Regions from separate parts of the Homo sapiens genome. Here regions 2, 3, 4 and 5 are each linked to region 1. Evidence: promoter capture Hi-C in 16 types of primary human blood cells and fetal thymus (Javierre and others, 2016). All regions are on one chromosome and are shown on one strand. Each heading gives the region's core, a stretch centred on a gene start or on the middle of the fragment in contact. The rest is flanking DNA. Distances are from core to core; before and after follow the strand shown.

The links. Contacts are between HindIII fragments. The CHiCAGO score rates a contact against its expected background, and 5 or more counts as called.
Region 2: a contact is called between the fragment with the promoter of GOLGA2 here and the fragment with the promoter of SPTAN1 in region 1, in 1 of 17 cell types (endothelial precursors). The highest score is 5.1, in endothelial precursors.
Region 3: a fragment that was not itself captured here is called in contact with the fragment with the promoter of SPTAN1 in region 1 in 13 of 17 cell types (fetal thymus, total CD8 T cells, naive CD4 T cells and 10 more); the score reaches 8.6 in fetal thymus.
Region 4: a fragment that was not itself captured here is called in contact with the fragment with the promoter of SPTAN1 in region 1 in 1 of 17 cell types (endothelial precursors); the score reaches 5.0 in endothelial precursors.
Region 5: a contact is called between a fragment that was not itself captured here and the fragment with the promoter of SPTAN1 in region 1, in 1 of 17 cell types (M2 macrophages). The highest score is 7.3, in M2 macrophages.

Annotation. Positions count from the first base shown.
Region 1 is chr9:128,550,584-128,554,943 of GRCh38, reverse strand. SPTAN1 (spectrin alpha, non-erythrocytic 1) reads right to left here and starts at 2,357. Exons shown (of 57, transcript NM_001130438.3): 1 at 2,248-2,357. LOC101929270 (a long non-coding RNA gene) reads left to right here and starts at 2,531. Exons shown (of 4, transcript NR_188457.1): 1 at 2,531-2,576. RefSeq lists silencers at 100-394, 1,944-2,713. The HindIII fragment of the contact is 3,549 bases long and covers 1-3,179 here.
Region 2 is chr9:128,274,669-128,279,348 of GRCh38, reverse strand. GOLGA2 (golgin A2) reads left to right here and starts at 3,342. Exons shown (of 27, transcript NM_001366244.2): 1 at 3,342-3,456. The coding sequence starts at 3,373. SWI5 (SWI5 homologous recombination repair protein) reads right to left here and starts at 3,073. Exons shown (of 5, transcript NM_001318089.2): 1 at 2,947-3,073; 2 at 2,594-2,642. The coding sequence starts at 3,008. RefSeq lists enhancers at 2,839-2,968, 3,829-3,878 and a silencer at 3,569-3,678. The HindIII fragment of the contact is 23,128 bases long and covers 1-4,680 here.
Region 3 is chr9:129,033,467-129,037,927 of GRCh38, reverse strand. MIGA2 (mitoguardin 2) reads right to left here and starts at 1,302. Exons shown (of 16, transcript NM_001329990.2): 1 at 1,247-1,302. RefSeq lists an enhancer at 718-847 and a silencer at 1,188-1,317. The HindIII fragment of the contact is 679 bases long and covers 1,427-2,105 here.
Region 4 is chr9:128,250,642-128,254,963 of GRCh38, reverse strand. It overlaps DNM1 (dynamin 1), which reads right to left. Exons shown (of 22, transcript NM_004408.4): 21 at 4,024-4,239; 22 at 1-310. The coding sequence ends at 250. Among named protein-coding and RNA genes, the nearest start is that of MIR3154, 7.8 kb to the right of the region's middle. RefSeq lists silencers at 4,068-4,157, 4,168-4,322. The HindIII fragment of the contact is 1,949 bases long and covers 1,266-3,214 here.
Region 5 is chr9:128,952,255-128,956,426 of GRCh38, reverse strand. It overlaps NUP188 (nucleoporin 188), which reads right to left. Exons shown (of 44, transcript NM_015354.3): 3 at 3,581-3,654; 4 at 1-77. Among named protein-coding and RNA genes, the nearest start is that of NUP188, 6.6 kb to the right of the region's middle. The HindIII fragment of the contact is 8,060 bases long and covers 1-4,172 here.

The DNA.
Region 1 (4,360 bases), core at 1,108-3,607:
GCCACAAAGTAGAACTCAAGCCACAAAGATCTGACTTGGGCCTAGTTTGCCAGTACACTTACTTTACAAAATACTATTTCCTGTTCAAAATTGGTACAAGAGGAATATGCAAAAAAGGTGGAAGAGAGGTGATGGTTTGCAGCACAGCTGCTCCAGTCAAGTGGCCCCCAGTGATGAGCTATGCAGTCCTCCTCCTCCTCCGCATTCCTGGAGTCAGCATTTGCCACTAGGGCGTTGCATTCTTCTACAGTACAGCCGCAGCTGATATGCTGCAACAGATGAGTGCGTAACTAGTGGGATCCCTGCATAGCCCACGGAGGACTGATTACAAAGGCAGGCCAGCCTTGAACACACTTGTCCATTCTTAGTGTAGATTCAGCAGTGACAGGACATGGGGGACTATTCCTGAGATCCACTTTTCAGGATCTGCAGTTGACCCCCAACTTTGGATGAAGGCAGGTAAGAAAAAGCAGAAAAAATTCTAACCCAGGGAACCAAAAGACATACTTAAAACAGCTCTCCCCATGTGCACCTCTTCATCATATTGCTTGACAGGCTTACACTGCAGCCTGTGACATACCAGATTTCTCCAATTATTAGATGACTACAAAACACACTGCCAAGACCAAAGCATATCAGAGAATCAGTTACTAGGCTGATGGTTTGCCATAAGAACTGCTTCACACTTGTCCAGGATGAAGCAAAAATCCTCCTTTCCAGTCTCTCCATCAAGGTCCCTGGATAACAGTTAACACACTTTGAGGGTCCCTTTGAGTAATTATTGGCCCAGTTACTAAAAAAGGCTTATTGTTAATTTCCTGCACAGAGGCCTTTACTGCAGCACTTTTTTTTTCCTCCGCAGCACATTCAATTTGACCTTTCAAAATCTAAGACATTAGTTAGCTGCAATGAAAGGGAAAATAAACGACTAGTTAAGGAGTCGGAACCTTGACTCAATGGCTTCATATAGCTGAGTGTTCCTCCTGCTATTTCCAAGATTTTCTGTTTCCTGGCTCCAAGACACCCCCACCCTTCCATCTTTGATACATTCTGTTTTACTTAAGGCCAATTGCTATGACGACGCAATTTCTCAACACATTATGAAAATACTTCATATGGCCTCTCTCCTGTTCTTCCCGAACAGCCATGATGGTAAGTTTTTCTAAAATAACATGATGAAGACAGAACAAAGGGCTTAAATATTTTAGGATCTATTATATAAAAGAGATCTGATTAGATGTTGGAACAGTTCAAGCATCATCTCAACCCAGCTTTCTGAGCTATTTAGGCTTTTCATTTAAAACATATTCAACTTTTAACAAGGCGCTTATTTAAAATATATTTTACTCTAGTACATCAGAGACTTTTGAAAGCGATGTTCTAGGGGAAGCGTCTAATCAAATTCTCAGGGACAGCTTTCAAACAAAAGACTGTTCTATCATTCAACAGTGGTATGGTAGAATTTTTGACACTGTATCTCGACTCGAAAGACCCAGTCCCAGGAAACACACACACAAACAAGAACGCTAAGCTATTAAGTTATTTGATTTGAGCCACATACCATGCAAGCACTGCATTTACCTATTATTTACAAGCAAATCACAACTAGGAAGAAAGAAAAATGTTTATTACAAGGAAAGAAAAGGAGACGGCCAGTCTCAGACCCTTCTGCGTTCAGAGAGACGGCAGAGATTCGCCATGCAGGATGAAATTAAGGTCAGAGAGCCGTTTACGCTATGCTCGGGCTCCCCGGGCTCTTCCTCCCTCTACGGCTGGCCGGCATTGCTGGTGCGATTCGGAAGAACGAGCTGCAGAAGTCGCTCCCGGCCGAGGGAAGGGACCGGGGGCGGTGCGGGGAGCGTTCTGCAGGGAGGCGGCTGGCGAAGATCCCGACGAGGGAGCCCCCACCCACCTGCCGCAGCCGGATGGGGCAGGGCAGGGCCGCGCCGCAGCCAGGCTTGGGGGTGGTTGGGAGGGACCCGGCGGCCTCGCGCCCCCTCCCCCCGTCAGTGACATTCCAGCGGCGGCGCCGAGCCTCGGCCCGGCTGCTCCTCCGCAGCCCACGCGCCACAAAAGCAGCGGCAGCGGCTTCCCCCACTCAGCCGAATGGAGGCAGCCCCGCGGCCCGCCCGGCTCACCTGTCCGCGCGCCGGCCCCGCCCCGCCTGAAGAGCTGCCCAGCTCCCACCCGGGGGTCGGCTGCCCGGGGCCCCGCTCCCTCCCGGAGCTCCCCGGCTGCCCCTCTCACCGGCTCTCGGGGGGTGAGGGGCGTGGGTGCGTCGGGCCGAGGGGTGCTGAAGGACCGAGGAGCCTCCGCGGCCTCCGCTCCACACCGTTCACTCCGCAGCGGGTAGTGGCGGCGACGCGCGCGCCCCGCCTCTTTTATAAGCGGCTACGCGCGCTCCCGCGGCGGGCGGGCGCGAGCGCCGGGGGAAGCGCCCCGGCGCTGCGCGAGGGGTGGGGGAGCGCGCCGGCGGAGCAAAGGGGGCGGTGCTCCCGCCGGCTCGCCGCCCGACCGCCCGGCGGAAAGGGCCGAGCGATCCCGGAAGGAGCCGAAGCGACAATGCGGGGGAAGAGGTGAGCGAGGGGCGGGCCGCGGGAGGATGGGGAAATGGGGCGCGCGCAAGGGGTGAGGGGTGATGGTGCAGTGAGGTCACTGCCTACGCCCTGGCGGTAGAGACGCTCCCGCCTCACCTCCCTCCCCGCAGCTTGCGCCCCGCCACCGCCCGCCCTGCGGACAGTCGTCTGCATCGCACCACTCCGCCCTGGGAGCTCTTCCAGGACTGCGGAGAAGGGCGGGGCGGGGGTATCGCTGCAGTCTGGCTGGGGATGCTGCGCGCCCCGGCCGGAAAAACGCCCAGTCCCAAAGGGTGAGATCACCCGAGTGCGTCTCTTCCTGCTCACTTTCCCGAGGAGGAGGCTGGCGCTGGGGTCCCAAGTCAGCCTAATTCGGTGGGGGCTGGGGTCAAGAAGACGCGGATGATTTGGGGCCCCGGGTTTGAGGAGGTGGTGAGAGGAAAAGGCCAAATCCGAATCAGAAAAAAAATTAAGTCGACTAATTTGGGGCATAAAGCTGTCATTCTGGGATTTGGAGAGTTAATTTCTTATGTTCTTGGAGATTATGGGGGAGGAAACGGCAGCGGCAAAATAATAATTTCTTACATTCCTGCAACAAAAGCTTTCTCACAGGTCGCCAGTGGAATAGGCTACATTCATCCTATTTCATAAACAAGACATTAAGGTTCTTTCTGGCACAATTAATCGAACTTGCCTTGTGTACTAGGCACTATGCTAAGTATTTCGTGTTACCTTTTCATTTCTTAATCTTTGCAATAATTTTATGAGATGTTTTCCCATTTTACAAATGGGCACTCTTACATAATGCTCATGTAGGCTAAGTCTCTTGGCCCAGGTCAGGCAGCTACCAATTGGAAGAGCTAGGATTTACATCTCAGCAGTCAGAACCTTCCCTTTGCAACCGTATGTGTATTGCCTTCAAATAGGAAAGGGAGGCATTTTGATGCGGGTGGCTGCTGGGGTGCAGAAAGAGAAAAATAAGATTCTCAGAATTTCTGATACTTAAAGTCCTAGCAGTTTAAGGTCCTGGCTCTAAACTCTGTAGCCAGAAGCCCTGGATTAGGAAGCCCTTTCCCTATCCCCATTCCGGTGACAGCTGGGCCGCAGCCACTGGGAGTAACACCCAGATCATTCCTGTGCAGTCAGGCAGACGGGGAGCTCTGCAGCTTAGGAAGGCTTCAGCCTCCTGGTTACCAAGCAGCTCTCCTCTTTAAATAAATATAAAGTCATTGGACACTGCACCAGAATCTGGGCCCAGACCTGGCCCTGAGCTTCCTGGCCCTCTGCAGTTTGGCTTCTTTCCCCGTGCCTGGGACCTGCAATACGGTTTCTAAGCTGTCCTGGCTGTAGCCATGATACTGAGGAAAAATTTCCCTACCCACTCACTCCATTGGAGTGGAGAGAAAAGCAGTGACCACACCCCAGAAGCTGCTTTAGAGAATCTGTGTAGGAGAAACGTAGGAGCTGAGAGGCATTTCCTGCAATCTTCTATGTAGAGAAAACAGCGCTGAGCAACTCCTCCCTGGAGTGTGCATTTCTGAGAACAGCTGATGGTATCCGTGGCCTCTTCTCCAGCAGGTTGCAGTAAAATGTTTGATCAGATATTCAGCTCTGGGTACAAAATGGCTAACACAATTGTAGCTCCCTAAAATTTCCAAGACCTTCTGCTCCAGCAAAGAAAGCACCTTGGGACTGAGGGGCAGGAGCTGTTCAAAAGGGAGGGTTTTTCTATTAAATCACCCTGGCCCCATAGTGAACTGGGGGTTCTGCTGCTTTTGCTGGAT
Region 2 (4,680 bases), core at 2,093-4,592, 280 kb after region 1:
GGTGGTAGTGGTCCCCTGGGCCCAGCGGTTTTCTCTTTATCTCTTTGTCTTGTGTCTTTATTTCTTACAATCTCTTGTCTCCGCACATGGGGAGAACGCCCACCAAGCCCCGTAGGGCTGGATCCTACAGAAATGCCCACATTTACCTCAGGAGTGGCAGGAAGCAAAGGAGCCAGCCGAGCGGGCACAGAAAAAGAGGCAGGAGAGGTCAGGAGGGTGCTCCTGCAAATAGGCCCAGAGAGGAGCAAGCCCAAGGTACCGCTTAAGAGTTCAGTTCAAGCCCAGGCACGGTGGCTCATGCCTGTAATCCCAGCACTTTGGGAGGCTGAGGCGGGTGGATCACTGAGGTCAGGAGTTTGAGACCAGCCTGGCCAACATGGCAAAACCGTCTCTACTAAAAATATAAAAATTAGCCGGGCATGGTGGCGGGCACCTGTAATCCCAGCTACTAGGGAGGCTGAGGCTGGAGAATCACTTGAACCTGGGAGGCAGAGGTTGCAGTGAGCCAAGATCGTGTCATTGCATTCCAGCCTGGGCGACAGAGCAAGATTCCGTCTCAAATAAAAAAAAACAAAAAAAACCAAAAACAACTCAGTTTCTCAGTTTAAAGCCCCCAGCTCTGCCACGTCCTGGCTATATTCATCTCTCTGGAACTCACAGGCCTCACCTCAACATGGGGACAGTAAAGCGTCTTCTCAAAGGTTGCTGGAAGGAACTGGAAAGATGATGCATGTAAAGTAAGCTGATGGGACAATGCTCAATAGAGCCTCCTTTTTTTTTTTTTTGAGATGGAGTTTCGCTCTGTTGCCCAGGCTGGAGTGCAGGGTGATCTCGGCTCACTGCAACCTCCACCCCCTGGGTTCAAGCGATTCTCCTGCCTCAGTCTCCCAAGTAGCTGGGATTACAGGCATGTACCACTATGCTCAGCTAATTTTTGTATTTTTAGTAGAGATGGGGCTTCACCATGTTGGGCAGACTGGTCAAACTCCTGACCTCAGGTGATCCACTCACCTTAGCCTCCCAAAGTGCTGGGATTATAGGCGTGAGTCACTGTGCCGGGTCGAGCGTTGTTTTTAAAAATGGAAGGAATGGAAGCTGGGCATGGTGGCTCATGCCTGTAATCCCAGCACTTTGGGAGGCCGAGGCGGGCAGGTTGCTTTGAGCTCACGAGTTTGAGACCAGCCTGGGCAACATGGCGAAAATTTGTCTCTACTGAAAATACAAAAAAATTAGCCAGGCGTCATGGCACACAACTGTGGTTCCAGCTATTTGGGACGCTGAGGCAAGAGGATGGGTTGGGCCTGGGAGGCAGAGGTTACAGTGAGCCCAGATCGCACCATTGCACTCCAGCCCGGGCGACAGAGTGCGACTGTGTCTCAAAAAAAAAAAAAAAAAAAAAAGAGAAGGAATGAATTAGCATGAATGAGAAAGGCATGATCTGCAGTGAGTTACCGCATGGTCAAAGACAGTGGATACCAACCCACTTGCAGAGAGAAGCTCAATCAGCCCAGTGCTTTTGGCAAACTATGGCTGCCACCCCGTCATCGTCATCTGAGCTCACTGTGAGTTGCCCTTCAGGCCCTGCCTCTGACCCTGCCATCTCTGGAGAGCCCTCTTTGCAAGCCCAAGCCTGGGCTCCCCATCTCAGAACCATGTGCATACTTGTCCTGGAATTATTTTTTTGCCTGTGGCTCCTGGAGGGCAGGGGGCTATCTGGCATACACCTGCATTGCAGCAGTTGCTAAATCAATGAACAAATACCAAGTCTTTCCCGATCTAACTTCTTTTTTGTTTTTGAGACTTGTCTAGCTCTGTTGTCCAGGCTGGAGTGCAGTGGTGCAATCTCGGCTTACTGCAACCTCCACCTTCCGGGTTCAAGCAATTCTCCTGCCTCAGCCTCCTGAGTAGTTGGGATTACAGGCCTGCACCACCACGCTCGGCTGATTTTTTTGTATTTTTAGTAGAGACAGGGTTTCATCATGTTGGGCAGGCTGGTCTTGAACTCCTGACCTCAAATGATCTGCCCGCCTCAGCCTCCCAAAGTGCTGGGATTACAGGTGTGAGCCACTGCACCCGGCCCTCACGATCTACCTTAAGAGTGGTGGTAGTTGTAGTGGCAACTCCATCTGGGGGATGAGAGAAGGAGTAGGCTGCGTTTTGGGGGTGGCTTGCCAGCGAAGAGGAGAGACTATTAGCAACGAAAGGAGTGGCCAGGGTGAACGCCAAGCATTTTCCTGACTGGGGAGCTATGGGTTTGTTTAAAGGCAGGGCTGGGTGAGGGGTGAAAAGAGCGAGGAGGAGAGATGGCTGGTGCTGGACTGGAGTGAAAGGCATCTGAGGAGCCAGGAGACAGGATGGGGAGGGAGAGGAGTTAGCCTAGGACAGGACAGGATAACACTTCTTTGAAGACTGGCGGGCATGAGGAAAGGAAGGGGAGGGATTCGGGAATGACCTGGCGGTTCTCAGTCGACTGGGAGAAGATATGGAAGAGGGCCAAGCGGGGATTGGCTGCTGTTGGGATGGGGAGTGGGGCCGGGAGCGCACAAGGGAAGGTCGAGGATGGGAAAGGGGGTGTGGGGGAAGAAATACTCACAGGGGATCGGAAGGCCCCGCGGCAACTTCGGGTAAGTCTTGGTTCAGTCCTAGAGAGGAATCCGAGGGGAAAGTCTGATTGGACCCACAGCCCGCTGTGAGGACGGGGTACTGTGGGGATGCGGGAGGAGGAGCAGTTGGGAAGTAGGAGCGCCAGGGACTGGATCCATCTGGAAAGGGGGCAGACACGCTCTCAGGATCAGGGTAGAGACCCTCTAGGAAGGGGGCGTTCTGAGACGGGGGTTGTCTGGAGCACTGGATGGGAGTCTTTGGAGGTGATTTCTGGGAAGGGAGAGTCTGGGGCAGGGCTGTGAGGAGTCAGGAAAGAAACTGTGGAGTCCGTTCCTCGCCCACCTCCTGAGCCCTGGGGTCCGAGGCCCCCGGATCAGGGGGTTCAATGGCGCAAGAGGGTCCAGCGCGGGAGTCGGAGAGCGACCTCTCAGGTGCACCGGGCCAGGAACTCTGACCCGGAGTGTGAACTGGCGCACAGAAAGCTGCGCGCGCACCCAAGGAAAGCCGGCCCCGCCCCTCTCCCGAGGTGGGCGGGGACAGCGGTTGCGTGCGCAGCTTTTGTTGTGACGCCACAGGTCCCTCTGGCCACGCCGCTGCATAGCCACGCCCCCTTCCGCTTCATATTTCTCATTGACCAATGGGCTTTGATCTTTGAGGCCACGCCCCCATTCTGCGCTCCAGTATCGCCCTGGTTACGCCTCCTCTGGCTCCGTCGCACAGCTGCGCGGTGGCTGACTGACTTCCGCAGTGGTTGCCGGGATCGCGCTGATGTGGCCCCAACCCCGCCTCCCTCCCCGCCCCGCGATGTCGGAAGAAACCCGACAGAGCAAATTGGCCGCAGCGAAGAAAAAGGTAAAGTGCACCGGGTCGCGGCCCCCCGACCCAGCCCCAGCCCCACTCCGATGGCAGGACCATGGCCAGAGTCTCTGCCACTCCTGAGGCACACCGGGCTGGGCTCCCCACGGCGCGTCCGGGCTCCCTCCACCAAAGTCTTGTCAGCCAGCCCCGCCCCCTCAGCCGCCCAGCCCCCGCCCTCGCCAGTCGCCCCCGGGTGACTTTGGGCTGGTGCTCCCGGGGCTCCCCGCTCCAGACTCGGCCCTCACCTCCTGCCCCCCGAAGTCCGACCTCCCTGGGCTCTTTGGGCTGGCGTCTCCAAGGACCTAGGACCCCAGCAATTCAGCCCCTGCCCTCGCCAGTGACTTTGGGCCCGTGACTCCCGGGGCCCCCCGCTCCAGACTCGACCCTCACCTCCTGCCGCCCCAAACCGGACCTCCCGGGGTTCTTTGGTCTCGGGTCTCCAAGGACCTGGGTCCTGGCCCTGCGGTCCCCTCCCCCATCGCGGAGCGGCGACTTGGACGTCGCGCTGATGTTCCCCCTAGGAGTGGAATGTAGTGACGTCACAATCCCCCTCGGAACCGTAATTAGTTGCGCGAGACCAGTCTTTGATCTTAGGACCCAGTCCCCTAAGTGTTCTCATCCCGCTTCTGGTTCCTCTGGTCACAGCATAAATTTCCAGCTGGAAGGGGATTGGGGACTATGGGACCTAGGAGGGAGAGGTTTCAGGCTGCCTTACACCCTTAACATAGACATTGACAGTGTGAAAAGCCTACACTTCACCCGTGAACTGAAAACATTGGCAGTATCTCTGGGTGGCAATGTGAGAACGGGATTGGTTTGGTTTTCCCCCAGGCTTCTACTCTCCAGAGAGACTTTAACATTTTTTTCTGACTTCTCCACCTCATATTCGAATTCTCCATGGTTCTGGGACCAGAGTGCCCTTCAGTGGTCTCTGGAATGAGATCTGCTTATCTTCTGTGGAACAGGTCTTGGGAAACTGAACTTGACAGCTTGAATCTTCCTCATATCATCTCAACCTGGGGTACTTGGAGTGCCACAGGATAAATACGGGGCATCTTTCTGAAGCATCAGTCTCCCTTTATTCTCTTGAGAGAGAAAAAACATTAATGTACTTAGGGATGACAGTCACATAAATTTCTAAGAGTATACCAGACTTTTCTCTGAAATGAGGCTTGGGTTGTCCTCTTTCTGTTAAATTCCCAGGTTCAACAGAAAGGC
Region 3 (4,461 bases), core at 517-3,016, 480 kb before region 1:
CTCAAGGATGGGGAAACGCGGAGGCTCTGAGATGAGGCAGCCTGCCTGAGGTCACCGAGTACTAAGCGGCCAAGCTCTGGGGGATCTCAAGGCTGTGGCAGGGTTTCCCAGCTTCTGCCTGCTACAACTGCCACTGCTCCTTCCAGGCCACAACTGTAGGACTTCTGGGCCCCCAAGTGAGAAGCCCACATGGTGTTAAAGATGAGCCTGAACAAATAAACGCTACAGGGGTGACTGAGGCCCACTGTTTGCGGGAGAGTCCAGAGCAGCCCCTGCTGTCCCCACTGGGAGGCAGAGCCTGCAGGTGCGAGGTAACATCACCAGCCCCCAAGCCTGCTTCACTCCAGGGATGGATCCAAATCCAGTCAACCCACACTGTGTCCGTCCCCCTGGCACCCTGTCCGTCCTCCAGGGCCTAAGCTGAGACCCCTCCACCTCCTCTCCACAATGAAAAGCCCACGGCAAGGTCCCCTACCAAATGGACACTTCTACTGCTGTGTAGGGCCTGGCCCCACTTGGGCAGCCATCTCTTGTGCCCTACAATCTTAGGCGGACACCTCCTCATTCCACCGTCACCACAGCACTTACAGCACCCTCAGCCTGGGTGCCTAAGCATATCATCCTACGCGCCTCCTCCCCTGCGCTAGACCACCCCACTAATGACTCTGGCCTGTGCACTCACTCATTCCGTCTGGACCCCAACAACGTCCCCGACTCCCTTGAGCCACTCTGCCCAGTCTCCTATTCACCCCATGCCGGACCCCTCAATAGTCCCACCATGCCGGGCACCGGGCATCCCCGCGTTGGACCTCAGCAATATCCCCGTCTTCAGAAATTGCTCACTCCACCCCAGGCATCTTGGGCAGCCCCTTCTTCTCTTGCCCCCACCCCGGAATATCATTGAAACTCACCCAGGTACCCTCTGGCGCCGCTCACGGCCCGCACGCCTGCTCCTTCCATCCCGGGTGCTCTCCCCGCCTCGGATCGGGTACCTGCGCGCCTGCTCCAATCCCCGCCACGTTCCAGGCCCGGGCATCACCTCCCTGACCCAAGTACCTTCTCGTTCCGCTCCCAAGCAAGGCACCCTCTCGCACCGTCCCCGGCCCGGGTACCCACTCATTCCAACCCCGACACCTTCCTGGTCCTGTTGGGCCCGGACACCTGCGCCTACTCGGTCCTCCGCTCAAGTCCCGGCCCTGCCGCGCTGCCCGCCCGCCTTGGGGGCTCGGCCGGGGCCGATACTCACCCGGGATGCCATCGCTGCGGAAGGGCAGCGTCTCCTTCCCCGGCGGCTGCGCAACCAAACCGGCCGCCCGGGGGCGTGGCCTAGCGCCAAGCCCCCACCCTCTTCTGGCCAATGAGCATCGCTGAGTCTCTCAGGGCCGCCGCAGCCTCTGGCCAATTAGGCGGGTCATGTGACCAAGCTTATATTCCGCCTCTCCCGCCCTCTTCCCCTCCTCCTAGTGCGGTTGAAGCGCGAAAGTGGTCTCTTCTCTTCTACTATTGGTCATTCAGATTAGATCGACATGGGCGGCTGGGTGGGGCGGGGCCATTCTTAAAGGGGCTGAAGCGGAGCAGTCAGACCTCCAAGGGGCTTTCTTGGAGTACGCCAAAGCAGGCTGAGCCCTCGTATTAGGATCCTCTATTCTTGTTCCACACAAGGACAAATCCTTCCCACTCTCCAAGCGCCCATTTTCAAATACTACCGCCCCTGACTTCCCGCAGCATGCTCTTATACTGTCGCCACTCTCCCCCTTGTTCTGGAGTTGTTTGCAAAAGTGCCAGGTCTCGCCGCTAGACAGTGTCTCTCTGAGAGCTGGAGTCAAGGGGTCTTCAGTTCTGGCCACCTATCTGGGTCTTACACTAAATACCAGGATTGAGATCAGGCCGACCTGAGATAGAATCAAGTGTTGCCACTTCAGCTCTCTAGAGCTTACCCCTCTATGAAATAGGGATGAGGCCGGGCGCGGTGGCTCACGCCTGTAATCCTAGCAGTTTGGGAGGCCGAGGTGGGTGGATCACGAGGTCAGGAGTTCGAGACCAGCCTGGCCAACCTGGTGAAACCCTGTCTCCACTAAAGATTAAAAAAAAAAATTAGCCAAGCTTGGTAGCACACACCTGTAATCCCAGCTACTCAGGAGGCTGAGGCAGGAGAATCTCTTGAACCCGGGAGGCAGAGGTTGCAGTGAGCTGAGATCCACCCATTGCACTCCAACCTGGGCCAAAGGGCGAGACTCCGTCTCAAAAAGAAAAAAAGAAATAGGGATAAAATCTTCCCTTTCCCAAATCATAGGGCTTTGGTGAGGATGGAAAGAGGACGGTGTATCAGCCCTTCCATAACTGCGAAGAGCTGGGCACAACTACGTTTTAAAATTGTAATCGTCGGCCGGTAGCAGTGGCTCATGCCTCTATTCCCAGCACTTTGGGAGGCTGAGGTGAGTGGATCACATGAGGTCAGGAGTTCGAGACCAGCCTGGCCAAAATGGTGAAAACCGGTCTCTACTAAAAATAAAAAAGCTAGCTGGGCGTGGTGGCACACACCTATAATCCCAGCTACTTGGGAGGCTGAGGCAGGAGAATTGCTTGAGCCGGGAGGAGGAGATTGCAGTTAACCAAGATCACGCCACTGCACTCCAGCCTGGGCAACAGAGCCAGACTCCATCTCAAAAAAAAAAAAAAAAAAAAAGCCCGGGAGCAGTGGCTCACGCCTGTAATCCCAGCACTTTGAGAGGCCAAGGCAGGTGGATCATGAGGTCAGGAGATCGAGACAATCCTGCCCAACATGGTGAAACCCCATCTTTACTAAAAATATAAAAATTAGCCCAGCATTGTGGCGTGTGCCTGTAGTCCCAGCTATTCAGGAGGCTGAGGCAGCAGAATCGCTTGAAACTGGGAGGTGGAGGTTGCAGTGAGCCGAGATTGCGCCACTGCACTCCAACCTGGGTGACAGAGCAAGACTCCATTTCAAAAAAAAAAAAAAAGGAAAATTACAATTGTCGGTAAAGCCACATTCCTTCATTCATTCAACTAATTAAGTGTGCCAATCCTTTGGCTGGACATGGGAGCTCAGTGGTGGACAAGAGACAGGTATGTGGTGGCACCAGGGAGCTCATTGTCTGGGGAGCAGATACTTAATCACAATCCCCTGTGATGGTTACTCTAATGGGGGAATGTGGGATACCAAGGAGATACCTGGGCTTGCCTGGGGAGGTGAAGGGCTCCAGAAAGAAAAGGGGTCCAAGGCCGGATGTGGTGGCTCACGCCTGTAATCCCAGCACTTTGAGAGGCCGAGGCGGGCAGATCACCAGGTCAGGAGTTCGAGACCAGCCAGACCAACATGATGAAATTAGCCAGGGGTGGTGGCATGCGCCTGTAATCCCAGCTACTCAGGAGGCTGAGGCAGGAGAATCATCTCTTGAACCCGGGAGGCGGAGGTTGCAGTGAGCCGAGATGGCGCCACTGCATTCCGAGACTCCGTGGGGAGGGGAGGGAAGGGGAAGGCAAGGGAGGGGACGGGAGGGGAGGGTGGTCCAAACAGCGGATGCCCAGTGCCCGGCATGGTGGGACTGGTGAGAGGTCTGGCATGGGGTGAATAGGAGACTGGGCAGAGTGGCTAAAGGGAGTCGGGGATGTTGTTGGGGTCCAGGCGGAATGAGTGCACAGGCCAGAGTCATTAGTGGGGTTGTCTGGCACAGGGGAGGAGGCGCATGGGATGATAAGCTTAGACACCCAGGCTGAGGGTGCTGTAAGTACTGTGGTAACTTTGGAATATAAAATTAGCCGGGGGTGGTGGTACCTGCCCCCAAATACTTGGGAGGCTGAGGCAGGAGAATCGCTTGAACTCAGGAGGTGGAGGTTGCAGTGAGCCAAGATCGTCATGCCATTGCACACCAGCCTGGACAACAAGAGTGAAACTCCGTCTCAAAAAAAAAAAAAAGGGTGGGGGGGGGGCCAAGGGCCAGGCACGGTGGCTCATGCCTGTAATCCCAGCACTTTAGGAGGCTAAGGCGGGCGGATCACCTGAGGTTGGGAGTCGGAGACCAGCCTGACCAACATGGAGAAACCCTGTCTCTACTAAAAATACAAAAAATTAGCTGGGCATGGCGGCAGGTGCCTGTAATCCCAGCTACGCAGAAGGCTGAGGCAGGAGAATCGCTTGAACCCGGGAGGCGGAGGTTGCAGTGAGCCGAGATCGTGCCACTGCACTCCAGCCTGGTGACAGAGTGAGACTTCATCTCAAAAAAATAAATATAATAAAATAAAATAACTGTCCTCTAACTGGCAAAAGGTGTTTTGTTTTGTTTTTCTCTAGCAGCCAAATAAGCACTGGCTTCCAATGAAGGATGTATTAAATAAATAAATAAATAAATAAATAAATAAATACAAACAAGCATTGGCCTCAAGATAAGCAACACTCAAACAACTGCAGCTCCTTCAGCTCCCGGACGCTGACTAACTGAA
Region 4 (4,322 bases), core at 991-3,490, 300 kb after region 1:
TTGGCCATGTGTAGGTGTGTATATATATGAGTATTTATAGATATTTATAGAACAGGGCAAGGGCATACCACAGAAGGGGCACAAGTTTTCACCAACGGTCACACCTGAATGTATCAGCTCACCACTACAACAGATTAAGTCACAGATGAAGGGGGCTGGCTTTGGGGCTGGGGGAGCCACTGTCAAGTCACAGAACAGCCGTCCAGGCAGGCTTGGAAAGGGAGGTCTCCGAGAAGAGGAGGGATCTGTTTAGAGGTCGAAGGGGGGCCTGGGGCTCTCAGGACGGGATGGACTTGCCTGACCCGATCGGCTGGCAGTTGGAGAGAAAGCAGAGAGAAAACGGGAGAGAAAAGCGAGGAGAGAGCTGGTAAGGCAAGCGCAGCACACGGCCGGGGCCGGCCGCGCCGCAGCAGTGGTGGGAGGGCCGGGGAGGGGAGGCTGCAGGTGTGGGTGTGGCAAGGTTCCTGGAAAAGGGGCTGGAAGGGAAAGGGGAGGAAGATGGAGGGAGGAGCCGTAGCTTCACAGATAGCGCCTGGGGGCTGTGGCGGCCCTCCCCACCCCACACACGCTGGCCTCTCACACGGCACCCAGGCAGGGCACCCGCAATTCAGGCTGATGCTCGGCCCCCTCGGGCTTCCCTCTTCTCTGGTCACCCTGTCTTCCAACCCACTGGCCTGGGGCCACCCCTTGCCTTGGGGAGCCCCATGCAACAGCCACCAGGCCTGATAGAGAAAGAACACTGCTTGAACCAGGAGGGTGAAACTAAAAGGGATGGCTGGAGGGAGCGCCGGAGGCCCCTCTGGGTGTTCAGAAAACCCAGGACCCTCTGAAGGGACCCTGGGGGAGGCAGGGAGGGCAGGCAGCCGGATGCCAGTGGCCATAGACTTATAAGTCTAAGAGGGGAGCCTCAGCTGGTCGGGGGGCTGCAGGTCTCGTAGGTGAGGCTGGGCCCTTCCTGCTGGGAAAAGCAGAAGAGCGAGAGTCAGTGGCAGGAGAATGGGGGGTGGGCTCACTGGGCGGAGCTCAGCTGGGCCAGCAGGCACGGTCGTCCCCTTGGCTGAATGGCACAAGTGACCCTAGGAGCAACAGGCCAAGGTGCGTGAGCCCGCTGGCTGGCTACGGTGCTTCAGCTGGGGCCAGGGACACTGCCTTCAGTCACACTAGCAGCTATGACGGTACCTGGGAGGGAGGGAAGGGGGCTGTGTGTCCCTGCCTGGCCTGTGAGGTATGTCGTGGGATGACCGTGTGTATGGGACTCTCAAGCTTTTACCCTAGGTCACCACTGGATTGCCGGCAGATAGAGGAGGTGGGACCCTGACTCTCACCCCTGCTCTACGGTGGATTTGGCTCTCAGCACTCCCAGGCTGGGAGCTGGATGCCCTACCCAGGGAGCATGACTCAGACTGCACACCACGCACGGTGTGCCCAGGATAACGTTCCTAGGCCTCTGGCCGCCTCAGAGTCCAGCCCCACACACGACCCCCTCCAAGCTCCCAGCCTTTACACCATAAACCACGAGCTCTCTGCCCTCTCTGACGGCTCCAGAGAGCACCCATGTCTGCCAGCTTGGGCGCGGAGCCTGTTCCAAGAGCCTCCAGGCTCAGCCATGGAGGCCTTGGGCAGTGGCACTGAGTCCCGAGGCTCGCAGGGAAGGGAGGTGAGAGAGCCAGCGGCACAAGGACAGAAAGAGGAAAGAGCAAGTCTGCAGCTGCAGAAGGGAGGGGCGGGGAGCCTGGCTCTGAGGTCCCAGGTGCGCGCCCCGTGTGGAGCTAGTGCAGCGGGGCAGACACACCGTTCATGCAGCAGGCGGTGAGGCATGTACCTACCATGGCTGACGCTCCTCAGGGGTCACTGATAGTGATTCTGAAAGACAGCACGAAATCAACATGGCAGTTCACACGCACGGGTGGGGCCGGCCTGGGGGTGGGGGACACACACACGCACACGCCCGGGCGTGCACACACATGCTGTGAGGCCCCATGGCCCACATGCACACGCTAACACACATGCCCACAAACAACACGCATACGCCTCCTTCCCCGCCACCTCCCAGTGCCCAGCACCCTCACTGGCCGGCGGCGCGTGCAGCATGGATCTGGGGCATGCAGCCACTCAGCACACTGAAGCACACGTGTGGGCAGAGTCACAACACAGAAGCTCACCCGCACACAGAGGCATTTGCACCAGCTCCCTGCACACTCGTGCCTGGTGTGCTTAGAGGATCACCCGTGCTGCTCATGGAGATAGGGCTTGCTCGCTAAAGTCCAGCTGTCATTTCTCCACCTAAGAGCCTTCTGTGGTTCCCTACTGCCCACAGCATTGAGCCCCAACAAGTCAAACTTTTCAGACTTTGAAGGTTCTCCACCTTGCGCCCCACCCTGCCCACAGAGCTCTTCCTCATTCTGTCTCTGTTCTCTGCTTTGTCCAGTGGCTGTCCTCGTTGCAGCCCACACTACACCTCTGCCCACACTGCAGCTCTTGGCCCAGATACCCTCCTGATTCCTTGCCACGTAAGCCTATCTCAGCCATGCCTCAGACTGCACTGAAGTCAGGTTGCCTTGAAGAAGCTCTCCCAGACTGCTCTTTTCCCCAAGGTAGGGTCATGATTTGCCAAATGTTTCATGTGTGTTAGCAAGACTGGAGTTGGGGCAGGCATCAAACCTTACATCACAGATCTCACACCGCACCATAGACCTGGGTGCCAAATACCCTGAAGAATCTGAACTCACGTTGGCAGTTAGCAAAGTGCTCCTACGGCTGCATCTGCAGTTAACACAGCATCCCTATAGCCACTGTCTCCCTCGATCCCCACAACCGCCCTGGGAAAAAGGCAGAATGTCATCATTTGATAGAAGGGATGCTGAGGCTCTGGGAGGGAAAGAGACGTGTCTAAAGGCCCAGGGTGAAGCAGCATCTCTGGACTCCCAGTCCAGTCCTCTTGCCCAATACCATGCTGCTTGCCTCTACGCATCTGCTTTGGTCATCAGAGCATCATAGGGCAAGCCCCAATCCCTGCCTCATTTTGGTTTATGGGTGCTAGACCGACAGCCCTACCCTCCAGCCATGCAGAAACAAAACAGATGCTATTGTTCTGCTGTGTTCTTCCTTAGAGAATGTGGCCAGTGGAAACAGGGCAGACTGGGAATTGGAGTGAACTTCCTTGAAAGAGAGTCATGGGTCAAGAAGGTCAAGCCAAAGGATGTAGTAGAAAGCTTTTCCCTAGAAATCTTTGGGAATGAAGCAGGCTTCAAGCACTCCCATCCCTGCCCCTGCCGCCACCCCTACCACATTGGTTTAGACTGGGTAGGGCCAGAAGTCGCGGAGGGGGTGGTTGGGGGGAGGAAAAAAGCCATCAGTTTGCCCACGGCCCAGGCTGCTTCCCCAGCTGCTCCTGTCCTAGCCCGGGCCTGGGTGCCATGCTTACACTCTCACACTCGTGTGCACGCCCACACACACATCACACACCTTTCTAGTCACACAGTCACAGCCTGGCCTCTGCTCCTGTGGGCCAGTGGCTGGACACCCCCTGGGATGGCTCAAAGGAGTCAGGGCTGGGAAGTGGGGACATCAGGGTAGCTGAAGGAAATCCACACACTCAGAGCAGATCGGGGTTCAGAGTCAGACCTAAGGTAGGCTCCCCAGGGGCTGGGAGAGGAATTGGACGGAATGGAGGATGGAGGACAGCAAGAAGAAGAAAGGAGGAGGAATGCAACGTGTGGGCGGCCGCCAAGAGTGAAAATAGAGGGAAGCGCCATGCAAGTGCTGGAAAGAAGGGGGCAGGTGGGACGAGCCCCACAGCCCCCTCCCCAGAAACGACCACCTCCGGGACTCAGCGCTCCCTCGGGGGCAGGCTCCGCCAGCCCTCGGCCACACGTGGCGTGGCTCCGGCACCCAGAGTCCGATTGCCTGGGATAGAAACGGCCGGTTCTGGCGGCCAGGTCCGATGCTCTGGAATCCAGCCCCATTTCCCTCCCGGCCACGCCCGTCCGGCAGCCTCTCCAGCCGCATTCAGCCCCTACTCACCTGGGGACCCCGGGCGGGGCGCGGTTGGGGCGCGAGGGCACCTGAGGGGGAGGGCCGAAAGGGTCAGGGGAAGCCCCCGGCCTGGAGGGCACGGGGGGCGCCCCCCCCAGGGCGGACCCAGCAGGCGGAGGCCCAGGAGCAGGGCCCCGCGACCCGGGCCGGGCTGGGGGCACGGCGGGGGCTCGGCGCTGCGGCGTGGGGCTGGACGTGGGCGACCTGAGGGCGACAGGGAGCGAGGAACAAGGAGAGGCGAGATGAGCAGCTCCGCCCACCCAGAGGCCCCGCCCCAGCCCAGTGCT
Region 5 (4,172 bases), core at 310-2,809, 400 kb before region 1:
TGCTGATTCTTAAACCCAGTTCCTTCAATGGTGAAGCTACATCTTTATTAGCTTTCACTTTTTCAGCTGAACTTGGACTACAAAAAGAACAGTGAATCATTTCTTCATTCTCAATAGCCCACTGAGTTTAAAATAAAAATATTTTAAAATATTTTTCCTACAGACTATTTTCTGCCCTTCAGATGCCTATAAACACACACACAAACACACACACGCACACACACACACACACACACACACACACCCATTCACCTCTACAAACTTCATAACGCAGAACTGGTTATGCCTAACAAAACAAAACAAAAAAAAAGTGGTTAAATTACAGTTATAACAATGTTATTTGTAAACACATTAAGTTACATTATTTTTGATCCTTACTACTGCCCTAAAAGGCAAATATTACTATTCTCCTTTTACAAATGGAATTGCCAGCACTTAGGGTAAATAACTTACCAAAAATCCCACAGCTCATAAACAGTTGCTAAAATTTAAAACCAGGTCTGTGGCATACATACATATATTAATATATTATCTGTAATAGCTCTGTCCACCGAGAAGGCCTAGAATTTATAATACTCCAACAGCAGGAGGTACATGCAGCACCCAGATCCTGCTTTATAATACCATTCTCTAATAACAGGATTCCTTGGAGAATTGGTTGATTCTAGAGTCAGGGCAAGGAAAATACAAGAAAATCTTGAAGCATCTTATAGTGAAAAGAAGTACAAAAGGGCTTAAGAAACCAAAGTCCTTTCGGTAGGAGATGACATAATAGAAAAAAAAGAAAAGAAAAAAAGAAAAAAGGAAGGACACGCCCAAAGGACAGAGGCCAACCTAAAAGAATGCCCAATAGCCAAAGCTGAAACAAGGTATAAACAAAGTATAAGATAAATAAAATAAATATATTTGAGTCTATACTGATATAAACTAATGAATAAATAAATAGGATAGGGAGGGGCCAGAACAATGGCTCATGCCTGTAATCCCAGCACTTTGGGAGGCCAAGGCAGGAGTGTAGCTTGAGGCCAGGAGTTTGAGACCAGCCTAGACAACAAAGTGAGACCCTCATCTCCACCAAAAGTGAAAAAAATTAGCTGGACATGGCTATATTTAGTACTCACTTCCAAAAAATAAAATAGGAAAAGAGAAAAAAGTAACTTTACAGAGGAGAAACTTGGCAAATGCCTCCTTAACTGAGTGACCAAGATTAACATTACCAGTGATTTCATGTGGACAGCATGTACTCTCTGCTATGATGTGGTAAGAAGGGTAGCTTGGCCAGGCGTGGTGGCTCACGCCTGTAATCCCAGCACTTTGGGAGGCTGAGGCGGGCGGATCACCTGAGGTCAGGAGTTCAAGACCAGCCTGACCAATATGGTGAAACCCTGTCTCTACTAAAAATACAAAAATTAGCCAGGCATGGTGGCATGCACCTGTAGTCCCAGCTACTCGGGAGGCTGAGACAGAATTGCTTGAACCCAGGAGGCAAAGGTTGCAGTGAGCTGAAATCGCACCATTGCACGCGAGCATGGGCAACAAGAGCGAAACTCCATCTCAAAAAAAAAAAAAAGAAGAGCACCTCACCTCTGTGTATTTTTCCCAAAAACTCACAACCCCAGTCTAATAATAAGGAAAACATCAGACAAACCCAAATTGGGGGCATACTACAAAATAACTGACCAGTCCTCAAACTTGTTCAAGGTCATGAAAATCAAGGTAAGACTAAGACATTGTCGACATTGTCACCGGCCGCGGTGGCTCACGCCTGTAATCCCAGCACTTTGGGAGGCCGAGGCGGGCGGATCATGAGGTCAGGAGATTGAGACCATCCTGGCGAACACAGTGAAACCCTGTCTCTACTAAAAATACAAAAAATTAGCCAGGCGTGGTGGCGGGCGCCTGTAGTCCCTGCTACTCGGGAGGCTGAGGCAGGAGAATGGCGTGAACCCGGGAGGCAGAGCTTGCAGTGAGCCGAGATCGTGCCACTGCACTCCAGCCTGGGCCACAGAGCGAGACTCCATCTCAAAAAAAAAAAAAAAAAAAGACTAAGACATTGTCACAGCGGGCGCCTGTAGTCCCAGCTACTCGGGAGGCTGAGGCAGGAGAATGGCGTGAACCCGGGAGGCAGAGCTTGCAGTGAGCCGAGATCGTGCCACTGCACTCCAGCCTGGGCCACAAAGCGAGACTCCATCTCAAAAAAAAAAGACTAAGACATTGTCACAGCTAAGAGGAGACTACAGGCACTTGACAACTAGGTTGGATCCTGGAACAGAAAAAAGATAGTAAAGAAAACAATAGGCTGGGTATGACGGCTCACGCCTGTAATCTCAGCACTTTGGGAGGCCGAGGTGAGCAGATCACTTGAGATCAGGAGTTCAAGGCCAGCCTGGCCAACATGGTGAAACCCCATCTCTACTAAAAATACAAAAATTAGCTGGGCGTGGTGGCGGGCACCTGTAATCCCAGCCACTCGGGAGGCCAAGGCAAGCGAATCACTTGAACCCGGGAGGTGGAGGTTGCAGTAAGCTGAGATGTGACACTGCACTCCAGTCTGGGCGACAGAGCAAAACCCCATCTCAAAAAAAAAAAAAGAACAGACACTGGAATGAGACCACCAGGGTCAAATCCTGGTTCTATCACTTAGTAGCTGTGTGACCATGACAAGTTGCTTAACCTCTTTGTGCCTCAGTTTCCCCACTGGTAAAATGGAAACAATGATAAGGGTACCTAAATGTGATAATATAGAGATTATCTTTTTAAAAAGTCCATGTATTTTAGATACATAGTCAAGTATTTGCAGATAAAATAACAAGGTATCTGGGATTTACTTTAAGGTAATTACAGGGGAAGAATTAACAGACAGATGAATAACAAGGAAAAGTTCATCGTTAACCTAAGAGAATGAAAATGGAAGGTAAAGATGTAATACATTCAAAAGCAGTACAAAAGTAGAAGGGAAATGAGGGTGACTTAGACTATAACGCATAATAGAATGAGATCTGGACTAGGAATCAAGATCAAATAAGCCCAGCCCTACAAGCTGCATTCTCTTTATTTGCAACTACTTTATATTTTATTACTATGTTTTCCACTACCCAATAAAAAGATCTATATATTCACCCAAAGAATAAAAGTAGTAACTATCTCAAAGGGGTGTTGTGGGGATTAAATAACTTTTGATAAGTCAGGTGCTTAGAGTATTAATTGTTACATAGTTAACACTACACAAGTGTCAGTTGTTAGCATCATCCTTCACTGCTATCTCCCACCAATTAGTACTCACACAGACACTGTGGACTCTGAATAAATATTAGAAAATTCGTTGAATGTTTAATAAATTCTCATCCCCACACATAGGTCATAATTATATTCTACAATACTGTATTTCTAGAAGGAATTTCCTTTTCTTTCGGTCAACAAAAAAACAAATGTACCCTACTGTTTTCCACTGGTAAACTAAATTGTATTATCTCTGGTATACATAACCCTACAATATCATCAAAGCACATAGAAGGATGGTTTTATCCATGTCAGCTTCCTTAGGACAATTACTTTAACCAGACACCCGGAACTGCCATACCTGGGAGGTTTGTAGTAAGAAAGCCCCTCTAACAATCGCCGCCAATGTTTATTCAGTTCTGCCTCAATCTGACTCTGGAAAAGAACAAGGTAATTATACAAATGCAGTATTTTTTTTTTTTTTTGAGACAGAGTCTCACTCTATCACCCAGGCTGGAGTGCAGTGGCACCAACTTGGCTGACTGCAACCTCCGCCTCCCAGGTTCAAGTGATTCTCGAGCCTCAGCCTCCCGAGTAGCTGGAATTACAGGTGCCAGCCACCACACCCAGCTAATTATTGTATTTTTAGTAGAGATGGAGTTTCACCATGTTGGCTAGGCTGATCTCGAACTCCCCACCTCAAGTGATCTGCCTGCCTTGGCCTCCCAAAGTGCTGGGATTACAGGCGTGAGCCAAGGCACCCGACCGCAAATGCAGTTTTTTGTGCTTTCTTTTTTTTTTTTTTTTTTGAGACGGAGTCTCACTCTGTTACCCAGGATGGAGTGCAGTGGCGCAATCTTGGCTCACTGCAACCTCCGCCTCCTGGGTTCAAGCAATTCTCCTACCTCAGCCTCCTGAGCAGATGGGACTACAGGCGCACGCCACCATGCCAG